3 separate regions of the Homo sapiens genome follow, and regions 1 and 2 are each linked to region 3. The links are contacts of gene promoters, found by promoter capture Hi-C in human tissues and cell types (Jung and others, 2019). All regions are on one chromosome and are shown on one strand. Each heading gives the region's core, a stretch centred on a gene start or on the middle of the fragment in contact. The rest is flanking DNA. Distances are from core to core; before and after follow the strand shown.

Region 1 (3,435 bases), core at 491-2,990, 330 kb after region 3:
TTCAGAATACCTTTATTTTTATGGAATAAGAATTCGATACTCTTGAAAATTGGTGTAGAATAGAACATTTGCAACCCTATTTAGTATGAGTGGGATTTCCTTTTTACTTTTCTCAAAAATGCTATATTTCATGCCTTTCAGAAATTTGGAAATGTATGTTGCAGAGTAGGGGAAAGTAAGTATTAAAAGAATTTTCTAAGTTGAAAGAAGATTCTTTTTGTACTTAAATGTCAAGGTGATACTTAGGTGAAGTATGTCTTAGATCTTGGATAGCTCAGATTTTTTAAATTTAAAGCTAGTCACAGATGTAATTCTCAACTAGCCAAAGTGAAGAAAGCCCAATTTGGGACAACGTCTAAAATAAGAATTGCTAGAAACTTATGTATTAGGCATCTGTTACTGGTTATTTCCAATTCTGACTTTTTAAAATGTAGGGTTTTTTTTTTTTTTTAAACCAGTACACATCTGGAGGCATACACATTGAAGCAAATACAGCTGTGGTTATTTACATGATTAATCACAATTCTGGCAATGCATTTAGTGTTTAAGGTAAAGTGTATGCTTTATAAGGCCATCTACATATTGAAGGATGGCATTAGACATGAGGTATATCAGATATCATGGGTATCATTGTTTGGTTATATTTTGTCCTTTTCAAAACTATTTCTGGAGTTAACCCTTTAAAACTGAGTGATTAAAATTGCTTGGTTGTCAGTGTAGTGTTAGAGTTGAAAATTAAAACACAATTCAGAGATCCAAGAAGATGTCAGCTAAACCCAGAGATTACAATAGTTACAGCTTTTTCATGTTATACATTGAGTAGAGTTTGTATGTATTGTAACTTACATATATTGTAACATGTATGTATAGTATAGAGAATTTGTAAGTGTTGGACATACTATTTTGGGGCATTATACCCTATCACATAAGCTTTTTATGTAATATAGTTAAGTACATAATCCAGGTTAATACACTGTTTAAAATATCCATCCAAAATAGATTCTGGTTTGTCAGTGTTAGCACTATTTTTCTTAACAGTGCTCATATTAATTTTAACTGCTTAATAAGTTGTAATAGAAAGGTTATTTCTCAGATTCCTCATCTATGATAATTGGAAGGGTGGTATGCTATTACGTAGACATTAGTGCTTCTTACTGCTTAAGATAATGGTATTAAGGCTACAAAGTTTATCTAGATTTATCAGATAATTAACGAAGAATTTGGCCAGCTCTTTCGTCTTTGTTTACTCAGTAGTGTCATAACTATGAAGTACTGTATAGTAATACGAAAGAACTATAGAGGTATTGTTATGAATCTTTTTTATATGTTCTACCTAAAATGTTGCTCACAGTATTCTTTTTCCCCCTCTTCATGAGCCAGTTCCTTTTTCCTGGGACTTTATCTCTACTTTTTCCTTTCCTTTCCCAGCCATTAAAATAGGGTGAGATGGTTATTAGACGAGGGAGAGATGCTTTATCTTTGTTGTAAATGATCATCAGAGTTTAACTTTATAAACTAAAAAAATTGTACCATTCTTAAATATTTTTCCCCTCTCTAAGTTAAAAGAAGTAAAGTCAACTTGAAGACATCACTTAATAACTATTGAAATAACATTTTGAATCAAATCATAATTAGATGAAAAATTTTGTTTCTTAAAAGATAGTTGCTTTAAAAGATAAGGCTCTACAGTATTTTTCAAAGACTTACAAGGTTAGCAGAAAAGTGTAAAATATTATTTTATATTTCTGGCTTGAATCTTTTGACACATGATTATTTCCTTTTTAGGGACCAATGCAGATGGAAGCGACCTACTTAACAGTTTAGGAAGCTGGTTATTTGGAAGTGGTTCAAGCTGAGTAGAATCTGCTTGTTGTCTTAGAACCTTGAAACAGTTCTGTTGTGATTTTGAGTTATGTCACCCCCTTTACTCAAGAACATAGTATCTAGTCTTTATTTAAATTATTTTTTTGTAACATAAAACTCCATTAGACATCTTTATAAAGACTCCTTAAAATAACTATCAAATAGATAATTTCTATTTCCAGGCTCAACCCACATAGCATATTTAAAGCTTGAGATTTGAGGTTAGAGAATAGTGGTAATACGTACGTACTTTCTCACCATTCTAAACAAAAGCTGAAATCTCAATCTAAACCTCCCCTCTACCACTACCAAAGGGAGGAAGAAAATCTAGAAAACTAAAAACTACAATATTCTTCTTTATGCATATTTATGTTTATTCTTCCTTTAAAAATATAAATTTTGTATCAGTTGTATTAGGCAGATACTAGTGGTGGCTTACAGTTTGGTCTACTTTTAAATATTTGTATATAAGTTATCCTTACGTTTTGCAGTTTTGAATTTCACACTGGTATCTTCCTGCCATTCAACTTGCTTTAGGGTTGTTGGTGTTGTGTTTTGAAAGATTGTGAAGTCGACCTTCTAAAAATGAGTTCAAAGAAAAATCAGTAAAGTAAATATCCTCCTGAAATTGTAAGTTTCTTGGCAAGTAGAATTTTTTGTATTAACTTCTGTTTTAGGTTATCTGCAAACTCAAGAATTGAGAGAACTAGACAGCATAAGCTCAGATTTAAGGAAGATACCATTTTTCATAGATATGGTTTTAGCTGTTTTTGAATTGTGAGTGTTCAGTAGCAAGCTTTTCAAAGTTTTTGTAATTGTGGAAATAATGTATGAGAAATATTTAGACAGCATCTGTTTCTATTTTTAGACTGGGCTGGCTTAGATGAAGATGAAGATGCACATGTCTGGGAGGATAATTGGGATGATGACAATGTAGAGGATGACTTCTCTAATCAGTTACGGTAAGTTTTAAGCCAGATTTTTATTGTAGTTCAGTATTAATTATAAGCATGGAATATGTAATTTACATAGATGATTAACCTCTTAAAAGCTACTTAATCTTTGAAATAGGTTTTTGAACTGTGTAAAGTAAGACATATTGTCTTCATCTCCTGTGATTCTAAACATGAACACTTTGTGTAATTGCATACAACTTTTATTCTTTCTGGTCTTTTTACAAAGGTAGTAAAATAGAAGCATATTTGCTATTTCTTATCCTTAGGAATTTAATTCTGTCAATGTTAATTTTCTACCAATATCAAATAACTCAGCAGAAATTAGAATCATAGAGTGCTGGGACCTAATAGATTGGTGATTCTCAAACTGGAATGGAGATTGGGGTTGTGAGAATGTACTGTGTCATATTCATGTATAAATCTACCTGATTTCATTTATTTATTGAGGTAAAATTCATGTAACATAAAATTAAGCATTTGAAAGTGTACAGTTCAGTGGCTTCTAGTACATCCTCAATATTGTGCAACCATCATCTCTATTTAGTTCCAGTATTTTCAGCATCCCAAAAGGAAACACAGTACTTGTTAAGCAGTCATTCCACGTTCTTTCTTGCCC
Region 2 (3,823 bases), core at 1,091-3,590, 310 kb after region 3:
ATTCTGTCACACCCCCAACCCTGCCCGCCATATTCCTTAGCCTGCTATCTACTCCCCTTAGCACTTCCCACCTACTGAAGATATGGCATACCGTGTTCTTTACTGTTCCTCACACTAGAACGTAAACTCCACAAGGGTAGATCTCTTCAGTGTTTGGTTCACTGAGGTACCCTACCCCAGAATAGTAGCTGGCAGATAGTAGGTACTCCATAATAACTCCTTGAAGAATGAATACAGGAATTAGTTCACTCATAGATCAAGCTGTTTAATATATCACTTTTCCCTTTCAGTTTTAGTCTGCTCTAATATTAATATCTGCTGGGAGGTTTTGCGTGTCTGAGAAGTTGAACTCTCCCAACCTGTTGGTTGGGCTTACTCAGTGAAGGATCTAGTCTCTGGAATTTATTCTTCTGGGCAGGCTGCCAGAAACTGAATTTGTCGTCTTTGGGGTATGATGCAAGATTTAGGGTTCTTTGTTATTCTGAGGGGTGTGTTTCAATTTTGGCTGACTTTATTGTTTTGTCTGGGAATTTATTCCTGTTTTGAGTTTTATTTGTCTGGGTTGATCAAGCAATTTAGCAACTATTCTTCACAGAGCTATGGTATACTAGAAATTAGAGCTGAAAAACACCTCATGGTTGATCCAGACCATCCCCCTGCCATTAAGTCTTCTTGCTCACCACAATACACTGTCCATGGCTTTGTTCAATGAAGTTTTAAATGTCCTTAGAGATTCTTTTGGGCACCCACTCAACTAACCTAATACTCCTGAAAATTAACAAGAATCCCCAATGTTTTGTCTAAACTTTCCCTTTCTTATTTTCATTTTATTTCTCCTATTTACAGTCCAAGGTGAACCCTTTTTCTTTTGGAATTTTATACCTTTCAGAGAGTTGTGGACTTACATTTCTGCTCTATTAGTTCTTTAACCAAACTATGTGTTCCTACCTTAATCTTTCTTCATTCTCTTTGTTTAATTTTGGTTTTGGTTATTGAATTCCTTCCAACTCATCACCTTGGTTTGCAGTATGTATAGTTTCACTGTTCACCCATTGAACGACTATCACAATGCTTTTCCATCAGAAACCTTAAGACAAAGCACTGACATCTGCCATATATAATTACAAATATATCCAATTTGATGCCATAATCAACCTAGGGTGTTTTCATTTTACTCATCAGAATATTAAATAAGTTCTGTGCAATGCTGTTTACTTAACTTGATTTTAAATTCTGATGTTAATTGTGTAATATCAGACATCTCACTTAAGCCCTTTGTACTTTTGTTTTTATATCTGCAAAAGGAGAGCACAACATCAGCTTCAGCCTCCTTTGCTGTAATCTTATGAATATAAATATGCTATTCTAGGGCTAGAAAGAGATTTTTCAGAGAGAAAAACACCTCACTTCCCAGCTTTCAGACAGAATCACACAGGATAAATTATTCTCAATATATGAAGTTCAAATGACACTCTTTTCTGCTTACAGTAATTTATGCTAAATCAATCCATCTCCATTTGTAGTAAAGGGCAAATTTTTAAAATTCAAAAATGCCATGGGCTGATTTTTATAAAATACGAAATCACAGGGTTGGATGAAGTGGCAGTGTCAAACTGCTCTAAGAGTTTCTACATGTTTATGCTCACTTTCTATAGTTGTCTTTTATAGGCGCTGGTCCAGGGACCCCACTTTGAGTAGCTCTGTGCTAGACAATTATATGCCTCACCTTCAGATTCAGATATAGGCTCAGAGGCCTGACAGATACTTTTCAAGATAACTCTTTCTCTTCTAATGATTAACATTAGACTTGATTTTACTTTTCAATTTTTGTACTTCAATTCAAAATCAACTTTAAAAAAATAGAATAGCAAATCAATTAATCATTCCTCTCAAAACATTTGATTACATATTTCTCATTTATTTATCGTCACCTTTTTTCAAAGTGTGGCAATCCTTAATTCATATCATAAAATCAAATCTGAATGAAAAATACTTTTAAGAAAGAAGAAAAAATTAATTCCATGGAGCTTACACCAGACCCCTGAGTTACAGAATGATCCCTTAGTCACAGCGATGCTAGCAGCTCCACTTCTCAAACTGACACTAGTCTCTGGCAGCCTACCGTCAGGGATAGGCTGACAGCAAGCAAACACATTCCAATCAAAAGGAAGGCAAAATCACCCAGTGCTAATTCTACCCCACCTGGCAGTCTGCCACCAACCTTTACTCTTCGGATTTAAGACATAGATCGTATATCAGAAATAACTGGAGTAGCTATTACATAAGTTGGTTATGGGATGCATATGCTTTCAGCTAGCATCTTTTATAGTTTGGGTACAAGAAAAATTTTGAGTTTTAGCACTCTTTTCTGGAATAGGCTTCTCTTATTTTTAGTGGGTTTTAATTATGTTGAGAAGGAATTAAATAATGATATATTGAAATTTCATTTTTCCAGGGAATTAAAAAAAAATAAAATTAATTGGAAAACATGAAATGTGAGGAAATATTAAATACAGTTTTAAACTGAACAAACGTAATCCATAAGTTACACATTGGGCTTTTTATGATCTAAAAATTTCTTCCAAGAAAAAGAAAAATTGAAATTCAAAGACTTATGAGCTTGTTTCAAAAAATAGTAAAAATAAGTTCCAACTGGTATAAGAACATGGATAAAGTACCAACTCATGGTCAAGGTACAACATGATACCAGGGCAAATAATAGCACAGGATGAGTGAGGTATTAGCAGAGAAGAAACTTTAAATGCAGAACATTTTATACTACTTTAAGGGATTTTATACAACTAAGAAAACATATATATATATATACACACACACACATATGTATAAATAGCAGAGAAAGTGTATTAAAACAATATATTTCTGATGAAGTTCTTCTTTACACAATTTTCTAAGAGCAAGCACATGGCCAATGTGGATTAATCATTAATGAATTTAATAAAGTGAACAGATTATTAGCTCCTAAAGCTAGTTATTTTGTTTTTCAAATGTTTCAAATGTGCCAGATGTTTCATAAAAATAGTTTTTATTATTTAAAATGATTTATGAGGCTAGAATGCCCAACTTCTATTTCTGTGTTAAAATCTAAATGTTAAAAACCGTTAACAGACAAACAGAATTTACAGTTCAGTTAGCAGTCACTGAATGTGAAAAGAGTTCTTAAAATGCTCCTCTTCAGAGCCATTCTCGTTCCCATAGAAACCAATGTGAGATCCTGGAAAACAAGGTAAGTTCTAAAATAATCACCATTATAAATACCCATTATATAAATGTAAATACAGGCAATTGAAATGATTTAGATGATTTTGAAATTGCATATCATTTCCCAAACCATAATGATTCCTTCAGAGTGGTTCCTGTCTGTCATATAAATACAGCATTTACAAAATTTTAAAAATTCTTATGATTTACCTGTGAGACCATAATCGCCTTTTCAAACAAGTCTTGGGCATGCAAATACCGATTTTTGAACAGGTAGTTTGGTCCAAAATAGGGTCTTTTTGGGCTGGGCTCTTATGTTGTGGTAGATTAAGTACTTCTCATTATTAGCATTTACATTTTCAATAACTGTATCTTTATTCATTAGTAATTGTTCTACAATGAGATCTAAATATTTCAGGGAGCTTACAATGATAATTTTTCATATTTTCATTTGTCCAGGCATTTTGTTATGACAAAAGAGCCAAAAAAGCTCCGTCTATTTGGGATTGTAATTCTTCCCAATGTCCAGAATCAATCACTGGGTACAAAGTACTCATAATACTAATAAAGATGTGAGTGTGAGTTGTTCCCAGGTATATATACA
Region 3 (3,835 bases), core at 931-3,430:
ATCCCATCCTGGTTAGAATCTGCCATCTCAGCAAGGTGTAAGGGCATTGCTAGGAACACCCTGTTCAGTATAACCATGTGGTAACTCAAATCTCTATTTAACCAAAAGTGTCGAAGATAGGGGACCAGAGGAAGGGAGGCCTGGCTCCCTGCCCACTTGTCTTTGCCGGGAGGTGCTTTGAACTGTCCTTGGCATTGATCTGAGGAAGCGATTTCTGTAATTAAATGGCAGTGTGTATCAGGTGACTCGATGGGCGCCGATAACTTCTCCAGAGCAGAGCCCAGGACCGCAGACCCATGTTTCCCTCCTGTTCTTTAGCTCCTCACAGCCTACATCTAGACGGTTAACAGCCTGTCGGTAATCGACAGCGTCAAGTCAGGGCTGGCTGGCAGCTGCAGCTCTGTTTACCCCGAAGTCTATCTCAGAGAAGCCCGCGGCAGCCCAGGCCCAAAGCTCGTGACTCGGGCCAGTGGGAGAAGGAGAATGCTGCTGGGCGCCAGTCTCCCGGTGCTGAAGTTTCCCCCGAAAGGAAGTGCGACAATAGCTGTGTTTTTCTGGTGCAGTCCAGACCGCAAAGGCAGGGAGTTGGTGCACGCACGGCAGCTCTGCTTTGGAGTTCCTGAGCGGGGCTGTATCTTGCTCTGAGTTCCAGACACCCTACCTCTACCCGTCGGCCTGTTTTAGGCCGAGTGGCTCCACACTCCAAGTAAGGCTAAACTAATACTAGACACAACTAACACAGACGCTTTCTTCTTCGGTAGGAGGGAAAACGGAGGGGAGGCCAGATAACCCTAGATAGCCTGTGGAACTCCCAGATTGCCGGTCTTGGACCCCGTAAAGGAAGATGTAGGAAGGCCCCAAATCAGGATCTAGTCCGCGGAGTTGCCTATTTGAGGGGAGTAACAATGGGGATTGGGAGAGACTTTTATGCTGAATTTCTAAACTCCCAGCTGAATCACGACTAGAACAAGGATAGCACCTCCTGAAGAGCAAAGTTTAGATCTCGTGTATCAACTGAATGATTCTTGAATCCTTTCTTCCCTTGCATACGAGCTAAGTAGGATGTCTTTGCAGCAGGAAATAAAGGGGAGAGGGTACAGAAACCCGGGTCTGGGAAATGGAGAGACTGGGCCACATTCATGGAGCCAGGAGGGGGAAATCAATGAGCATCATCTGACTTTGCAAAGGCTTTGATCCTTGTCTCCTTCCCCACTTCCGAGACTTTCCCATTCTTTCCTGGAGGTATGGCAGGTTATACATGGATCCATTCACCTTTGCGGGAGTCTTTGGCCACTGAACATAGTTAAAGAGCCTTTATTCCAATGTCTTGAAAATAGATGAAAATATTAAACAGAAGTGGAGCTGTTTGGCTCTTTTTGCAAGCCAGCAACGAGGATTTGGGCTTCCTTAAGTTATATGTGTTTAAGACAGTAATTTTTAAAAGTCATTATAAGGACTTTGGGCTGCAGGAACTCTCCCTGCCATTCACCGGCTTAATGGACATTGTGCCTTCTTGGGCATTCCTGTCCAGCCCGCGTCCGGGAGATACTCATCTCCTGCAAAGGAAGTTGCCTCTTTCCCCAAAGAGCAAATTTTCAAAACATGTAAGTTACAACTTGCTTCCCAACACTCCACTAAAAAAAAAAAAAATGCTGTTTCCCTTCCTTCTTGCCTCCATCCTACATCCCCCCGCTCCCCACTCCCTGCACCTTGACTCCCTATTTCAGTATCAGTGTTTAATTCTACACTCGCCTTTGGTGCAGCCCACGGGGGCGGGGTAGTGGGAAGCAAGGAAAGATGGTCGCCCACCTCATTCCCAAAACATGTGCACTTTTGAGGCTTCTGATTGGAACACATTGTCCCCAGACATCACAGAGCCTTGTGCTGTGGCTTCTGCGATGTCTTTGGAATTTACTAAAAACAGATAGACTAAGACCCCTCCCCACTCCACAACAAGCAAAAACACACACAAGCGCGCGGGCGCGCACACACACAAACACACACACCCCCTCAGTACCCCCCACCCCCTTTTTAAGCAATGCTTTGTTGTGCTAAAACTAGTTGGACGAGTTAGGGTGTTACTGTTGCTCCCGAGGCCCTGGCCAATAGAACCAGATCCACCCCGCTGTGCGTAAGCGCGCAATTAAGGATTTAACCAAGGCTGTGCTGCGCCTCAGCCAGCAGTCAGCCGGCCGGAGACAGAGACTTCACGACTCCCAGTCTCCTCCTCGCCGCGGCCGCCGCCTCCTCCTTCTCTCCTCCTCCTCTTCCTCCTCCTCCCTCGCTCCCACAGCCATGTCTGCTTAGACCAGAGCAGCCCCACAGCCAACTAGGGCAGCTGCCGCCGCCACAACAGCAAGGACAGCCGCTGCCGCCGCCCGTGAGCGATGACAGGAGTGTTTGACAGAAGGGTCCCCAGCATCCGATCCGGCGACTTCCAAGCTCCGTTCCAGACGTCCGCAGCTATGCACCATCCGTCTCAGGAATCGCCAACTTTGCCCGAGTCTTCAGCTACCGATTCTGACTACTACAGCCCTACGGGGGGAGCCCCGCACGGCTACTGCTCTCCTACCTCGGCTTCCTATGGCAAAGCTCTCAACCCCTACCAGTATCAGTATCACGGCGTGAACGGCTCCGCCGGGAGCTACCCAGCCAAAGCTTATGCCGACTATAGCTACGCTAGCTCCTACCACCAGTACGGCGGCGCCTACAACCGCGTCCCAAGCGCCACCAACCAGCCAGGTACATGGACAGGGGGAAGGCTGGGCAGATACAGGGCGACTAGGACGCTGGGGGCGCGAGATGGGGTGGTAGATTGGGGGTCACAGCGGTTCACGGCAGTGGGGGCGCACGCGGCAGAAGGGAGTAGGACTCAGACCCTCCAACAAAGAGAGTTTCTCGGGCCAGCATTTTAGGGATTTTTAGTAGGAGAGCCCTGTGGAGGTTCGAACTAGCGTCTCTCCCCTCCGGCACCTTCCAAGGCCCTTCAGTCGCTGAATTCCCAGCTTGCCCGGCCAGGAAGCCGGCTAGGCTGGAAAGGGGATAGGGGTGGAGAGAAGAAAGAATCAAGCAGCTCCTGGCGTTTGCGTAACAAAGAGAAGGTTACTTGGGAATTTTGGTAAGCGTGCTGGGTTGGTGCGAGTGGGAATAGAAGGCTGCCTCAAAAACTCAGTCAGGATTAGTTTGAGAGCCGCCACAAGCTAGCACGGTGCGGGTGCCCTGAGCACGCTGGGTGGGGGTGGGGGGGTTAAGGAGTTGTAGCCAGCCAGAGAAGAGCGCGCCGAGAGTTTTGCGGTTTATCCAGGCATTTCCAAAAACAAAAAGCCATTTAAAGGTGGAGGAGGGTTGCTGAGGGGTCACGTTGTAGGATAGATTTTTTTTTCTGTCTCCATAGGCGCCCACAATTTGTCTTTCCGTCCTCCTTTTTCGTCCGCTTTGAAACTTACTTAGAGAGTTTAAGAGGGTTAGTGAGCTTGGGCGGTAAGAGAAAGGCATGAGGCTCGGCGGAGAGGTTTTATTGGTAAGGTTTGATCTCTTCCCACCAGCACATTAATAATCCTGCTAATATTAGCATCCCCTACTCTGGCAGAATTGAGACCACAGCCCTCATCCTCCACACTTCTCCCTGGAACTTGACACACACACACACACACACACACACACACACACACACCCTGGAGAGGTTCTCCGTCAGTTCCAGAGGGGTGGTAGTTTTGAGGAAGGGGAGTTGTAGCCCCAGGGCAGGTTTGTACAACACGCGTTTGGCAATCCCTCCCCCTCCCGCCCAAACCCATACTCATGACAGTGAGAATCTCATCCTGACCTGCCGCCCCTT

The links. The method cuts DNA at HindIII sites, captures the fragments that hold promoters and counts their contacts. A contact is called where the count stands out against the background at its distance.
Region 1: a fragment that was not itself captured here is called in contact with the fragment with the promoter of DLX5 in region 3 in 1 of the 25 tissues and cell types used here (mesendoderm cells).
Region 2: a fragment that was not itself captured here is called in contact with the fragment with the promoter of DLX5 in region 3 in 1 of the 25 tissues and cell types used here (spleen).

What each region holds. Positions count from the first base shown.
Region 1 is chr7:96,694,188-96,697,622 of GRCh38, reverse strand. It overlaps SEM1 (SEM1 26S proteasome subunit), which reads left to right. Exons shown (of 3, transcript NM_006304.2): 2 at 2,732-2,825. Among named protein-coding and RNA genes, the nearest start is that of SEM1, 14 kb to the left of the region's middle. The HindIII fragment of the contact is 4,440 bases long and covers 1-3,435 here.
Region 2 is chr7:96,717,678-96,721,500 of GRCh38, reverse strand. No RefSeq gene overlaps it. Among named protein-coding and RNA genes, the nearest start is that of SEM1, 9.7 kb to the right of the region's middle. The HindIII fragment of the contact is 5,097 bases long and covers 1-3,823 here.
Region 3 is chr7:97,023,176-97,027,010 of GRCh38, reverse strand. It overlaps DLX5 (distal-less homeobox 5), which reads left to right and starts at 2,180. Exons shown (of 3, transcript NM_005221.6): 1 at 2,180-2,742. The coding sequence starts at 2,388. RefSeq lists enhancers at 516-1,031, 1,958-2,674. The HindIII fragment of the contact is 6,057 bases long and covers 1-3,635 here.